2 separate regions of the Homo sapiens genome follow, and region 1 is linked to region 2. Evidence: promoter capture Hi-C in 16 types of primary human blood cells and fetal thymus (Javierre and others, 2016). All regions are on one chromosome and are shown on one strand. Each heading gives the region's core, a stretch centred on a gene start or on the middle of the fragment in contact. The rest is flanking DNA. Distances are from core to core; before and after follow the strand shown. Region 1 has its middle 89 kb from the start of MARCO. Region 2 holds the start of C1QL2 (complement C1q like 2).

Region 1 (2,700 bases), core at 63-2,562, 130 kb after region 2:
AAGTTGGAGTGCAATGAAACTGCATCATAGCTCACTGCAGCCTCAAACTCCTGGACTCAAGTGATCTTCCTGCCTCAGCATCCTGAGTAGCTGGGGATAAAGGTGTGTGCCACCGCACTCAGCTATTTATTTTATTTTTGTAGAGATGGGGTCTCACTGTGTTACCCAGGCTGGTTTTGTAGGTCTGGCTACAAGGAATGTTCCCACCTCAGCCTCCCAAAATGCTGATTACAAGCGTGAACCACTATGTTCAGCCTGCTTTTGGTTTTTAACCCTCTCTGAATAAGCTGTATCTTTTGACGAGATGATTCAGTTTGTTCACATATTTAATAATTTATATGTTTAATAATGTACTTGCCTGTCTTTTCTGTTTCCTATTGTTTTATATTTGTACTTTATTTTAAATTGCTTTTTTCCCCTTATTTCCCATTGGTTTGGTCAAATTGTTACTCATCTTTTAATGTGTAGTGTCTAGCAAAACTGTTAAATTTTATTAATGGTTTCTATTTCCTTGTACTCATAATCAAACATATAGTTCTCTATTGTTCTTTGAAACAAGATACCAACTATTTCACCAGGTATGACATTGCCACAGCTTTCTCCCCTTCCTCCCCGCATGGGATGAGACCACTAGAACACCTTCCTCTGTTATCCTCCCCTTCATCCCTCCTTCTCTCAGTCCTGAGATGGACATTTGGAATGTCTCTAACCTCCTTCCCCTCCCACTGCCCCTGCTGAAATAGTGTTGCTGAAATTGTTTCGTGCTATTAGTTTTAGGCTATTGTAAGAATTTCCCTTGAAATATCTCCCTTCAATTTCCAGATTATTTAAGATTAATATTTCACATTTCCAGAGAATTCATTCTTCTCCATTCAGAATTTTTCTCCTGTTACTGAATTATTATCTTTTTGCTATATAGCCCCTTTTTTTCCTTCTGAAGCCACAATACTTGAATGTTAGGTTCATGCATCCATTCCCCAACTCTTGCTTTTGTCTTCATCATTTTCATCGTCTTATAGTTTTGCTCTGTGTGTTGGCATATATTACTTCCATTTGACTCAATTCAGGTCTCAACAGTAGCCACATTTTTCTTTCCTTCACTTGTTATGCTGTGTAGTTGGGAAATCCACATTTTAGCTTTTGAAAGCCTTTTTGGGTGTGTCCTGCTCTTGATTACCAATAAGTGCTCTGTTTTTCTGTTCAGTCTCAGAGATAAGTATTTGAAAGCAGACACAGCCACAGATACAAGAGAAATTAAAATACTTACAAGAGAAGAGTATATGTAACTTTTGGCAATAATTTTAAAATCTAGAAGAAATGGATGATTTTCCAGCAAATAAAAGTTTCCGCAATTGACTTCAGAAGAAGTGGAACGCTTCAAAAGACCTATTATGACAGAAGAGAGAGAAAGTAAACTACCTTTTAATCAACAACCAGGGCCCAGTGATATCACAGCTGAATTGTGTTGGACATTGAAAGATTAAGAGAGCAGCCTTCTGTGGCTCGGTGTGCACTTTGATAGGTCATCCTCAGTCTGGACACCTTGAGCGTTGTTGCAGGTGGGATCCCCAGGAAGGAGAGCAAGTGGGAGAGTGTCCTGCACAGGACACTCCCTACATCAGGGAGTTCTCTTGGGACCATCCCTGGAGGAAAAGGAAAGAAAGCAGGGTTGAGAAGAGGGAGATGTTGGAGTGTGGCAGGTTGCCTCCACAAAGCCACCCTCTATGAAGAGCCACCAGGCTGTTAGGACTCTTCAGAGTTGTCTTGAACTGAGGTGAGAGGGCTGGACTTTTATATCCCTGCATCAATGAGGCATTTGATATTGCCTGCCTTGGATATGCCAAGGCAACTCCCAAAGAGGCCTGACAATTGAGTGCCATCTGCCAAGAGCCTCTCAGAAGCTGAGGGAGGGAGGAGCCTTCATTACTGTAGCAGAGTCTGGGTGACACATTACAGCATCCACTACAGATGAGCTGGTATTTTTCTTTATTCTCCCCTGAGTTTTTGGCCTGTTACTGCATCTCACAAAAAGCAGCAGTTTCAGAACTGGTGGTGAGTGGTGGAGCAGTCCCCTCACTGCAGCGGCAGTGAGGGTGACCATGTATGGCATCTGGAGGACATTTTCTTGGCCGCTCCTATTCTCCCAGCTGCTGGAGCAGGGCAAACTCAGTCTACTCATTCAACTCTCTCTCTTGGCCAGGCACATGAGAACAGGGGGAGAGGAGGGTGGCAGCTCCCTACAGGAGGACCTGCTGCCTTACCATCCTTGCAAAGGGGCCTGTAGGAGAGAGTTCTACGTTGGTTTCCTTGGCCATGACTCACCTGATACCCATGGCCTCATACAGGCCACACAATGGCCACAGAGACTGGTTGTCTTGGGAGAATCAAATTGATGAGATCTGTTAATGGAGAGGAAGGGAGCTGTAGACAAGTGGCCTTCTCCTGAGAATCCCTTCCTCCTGCCTTTCTCCTTTGTCACCGTGTTTATGAGAGTCATGTAAAGTATTTTGTTCATTGAGTAGCTGAAATCAGCATGCTAACTCAGCAGCCAGTGCAGCCAGTAAGAACTGGGCTGTAGGCAGAAAAGAGACAAACACATTCCACTTGAGGCAAGGGAAAAGTTTAATCAGTCACCACACAGGTTACTCAATTGTGAGTTCCCAGCCCTGGGCTAGGACCCATGGGGAACAGAAGGAGGAA
Region 2 (2,700 bases), core at 159-2,658:
CTCAGGGACAGGAACCACCTGGCAAAATCACACAGCTACTCAGGGCAAGAGCAGAAGCTGGGGCTTTGATTTCTCCGCTGGAAGTCTCTCCCACACCGGCGGGCCTCTCATCCTTCCTTAGCCTCACATGCTACATTGGAGATAGACTATTCTGCTCTCATCTGAGGCCATGGTTTATTCAAGACTGGCTCAGAATGGCTTTGGACTATTTGGACTATTTTCTAAAATAACTAAACCCATCTCAGGAGGAGGAAGCTGGGGATGTCCAAGGGAATGTGCCCATGCATCTGCCTGGCAGTGGCCGGGCTTGGAGTAGAAGCTGAGTGCACCATGATCACTGCCAAGTGCCGGCATCAAGCATTTGGTTTCTACACCAGCTTCACGCAGAGGACAAGGGCCAGCCATTTTCTGGTGGAAGAAAAGGTCTGAGGCGAATATTCCTTTTTTTTTTTTTTTTTTTTGAGATGGACTTTTGCTTTTGTTGCCCAGGCTGGAGTGCAATGGCACGATCCCGCCTCACCGCAACCTCTGCCTCTCTGGTTCAAGCGACTCTCCTGCCTCAGCCTTCCGCGTAGCTGGGATTACGGGCATGCACCACCATGCCCAGTTAATTTTGTGTTTTTAGTACAGACGGGGTTTCATCATGTTGGTCAGGCTGGTCTCAAACTCCCAACCTCAGGTGATCTGCCCGCTTCGGCCTCCCAAAGTGTTGGGATCACAGGCGTGAGCCACTGCGCCCGGCCGCAAATATTCTTGTATTGGGAGCCTTGGGCTTTTTAGAGTCACCTCAGAGGTTAGTGGGGTGCTCTACGGGAGCCTGTTTAAGAGTCTGGAGTCCTTAGTCTAGGTTTGCGAAAGATCTTCCAGAAGCGAGATCTATTCAATTCTGAAGAAATAACTCAGGAGGTCTTTCAGAAACTCCTTCCCGCTGGACCTCACGGGACTCTCCTGGACTCGGTGGGTTGAGGTTTGATCCTCTTTGCAGGCCAGGGGATGGATTAGGTGACCCCAGAGGAGCCCTGCTGACACCTGGATTCCAGCTGCTTTCGTGGCCATGTGGGGGTGGCTGTGCGTGCCCCGCCACTGCGTGCGTGGGTGTCTGTGTGTGTTATCGGTGGGGGGCGCGTGAGTGTGGCCGCGGGTGGGTGTGTCCGATGTGCCCCGGCTTGGGACCGCGCCCGCTGCGCCCACTTGTGGCTCCTGGGAGCCGCCAGGGGGAACCGCGCCTTCACCGCCTCTGCCGAGGACGCCGCCAGATAGGAGGCTGATGACATGAGGGCTCCGTCTCCCGAGTGATGGCAGCGCGCGCTGCTTCGCCGCCTCCGCCGCTCAGCCCCGGACTCCTTACGTCAGGGTAGCGGGGTCCCCCCTCCGCGCGGGAGCCAGCGAACAGCGAGAGAGCACAGCAGAGCGCGCCGCGGAGCCGGGGCGCCCTCACTGCGCTAGGAGCCCCACTAAACCCAGCGGAGCGGAGCCTGGCGGGAGGCAGCGCCGCGGAGCCAGCGCCGGACGCCGCAAGCAGACTCCCCGGCCAGCGCAAGCACTCCCTGGCCGGCGCCGGACCCTCGGGGCGCCGGATTCGTCTTGTGTGCCCCACGTCATGCGCGCGGGCGTCCGCGGCTCTCCCGACCAGCCCCAGCGCGGTGGGCCCAGGCTCAGAGGTCCCGGCGCCTCTCGCTGAAGTAGTTGGGTAGCCGGGGCTGGGGGTCGCCACGTCGGGGGCGCGGCCAGGACCCGCGGAGCCGGTCCCCGAGCGCGGGGAGCGGGGCCGCCCGCGCCGCCCCACCATTACCTCCCCGGGCGGCAAGGAGGAGCTGGTGGCGGTCGCCTCCCGGCTGTGGCAGCGGCGGCGGCGTGCCTGCCTGGCGGCCGTCGGCGTACTCTTGGCCATGGCGCTCGGGCTGCTCATCGCCGTGCCGCTGCTGCTGCAGGCGGCGCCCCGAGGCGCCGCGCACTATGAGATGATGGGCACCTGCCGCATGATCTGCGACCCTTACACTGCCGCGCCCGGCGGGGAGCCCCCGGGTGCAAAGGCGCAGCCACCCGGACCCAGCACCGCCGCCCTGGAAGTCATGCAGGACCTCAGCGCCAACCCTCCTCCTCCTTTCATCCAGGGACCCAAGGGCGACCCGGGGCGACCGGGCAAGCCAGGGCCGCGGGGGCCCCCTGGAGAGCCGGGCCCGCCTGGACCCAGGGGCCCTCCGGGAGAGAAGGGCGACTCGGGGCGGCCCGGGCTGCCAGGGCTGCAACTGACGGCGGGCACGGCCAGCGGCGTCGGGGTGGTGGGCGGCGGGGCCGGGGTAGGTGGCGATTCCGAGGGTGAAGTGACCAGTGCGCTGAGCGCCACCTTCAGCGGCCCCAAGATCGCCTTCTATGTGGGTCTCAAGAGCCCCCACGAAGGCTATGAGGTGCTGAAGTTCGATGACGTGGTCACCAACCTCGGCAATCACTATGACCCCACCACGGGCAAGTTCAGCTGCCAGGTACGCGGCATCTACTTCTTCACCTACCACATCCTCATGCGCGGCGGCGACGGCACCAGCATGTGGGCGGACCTCTGCAAGAACGGGCAGGTCAGTGACCCCTACACTCACCGGCCCCCGTAAACCCTCGCCCGCGCCCTGAACCTCCCAGGGAACCAGCCTCCTTTCTCTCCACCCGCGGGCTACCCTGCGAGCCCCGGGAATGAACGCGCCTCGG

The links. Contacts are between HindIII fragments. The CHiCAGO score rates a contact against its expected background, and 5 or more counts as called.
Region 1: a fragment that was not itself captured here is called in contact with the fragment with the promoter of C1QL2 in region 2 in 1 of 17 cell types (M2 macrophages); the score reaches 5.7 in M2 macrophages.

Annotation. Positions count from the first base shown.
Region 1 is chr2:119,029,411-119,032,110 of GRCh38, reverse strand. No RefSeq gene overlaps it. Among named protein-coding and RNA genes, the nearest start is that of MARCO, 89 kb to the right of the region's middle. The HindIII fragment of the contact is 3,264 bases long and covers 1-2,700 here.
Region 2 is chr2:119,157,459-119,160,158 of GRCh38, reverse strand. C1QL2 (complement C1q like 2) reads left to right here and starts at 1,408. Exons shown (of 2, transcript NM_182528.4): 1 at 1,408-2,573. The coding sequence starts at 1,890. RefSeq lists an enhancer at 2,230-2,700. The HindIII fragment of the contact is 3,837 bases long and covers 1-2,700 here.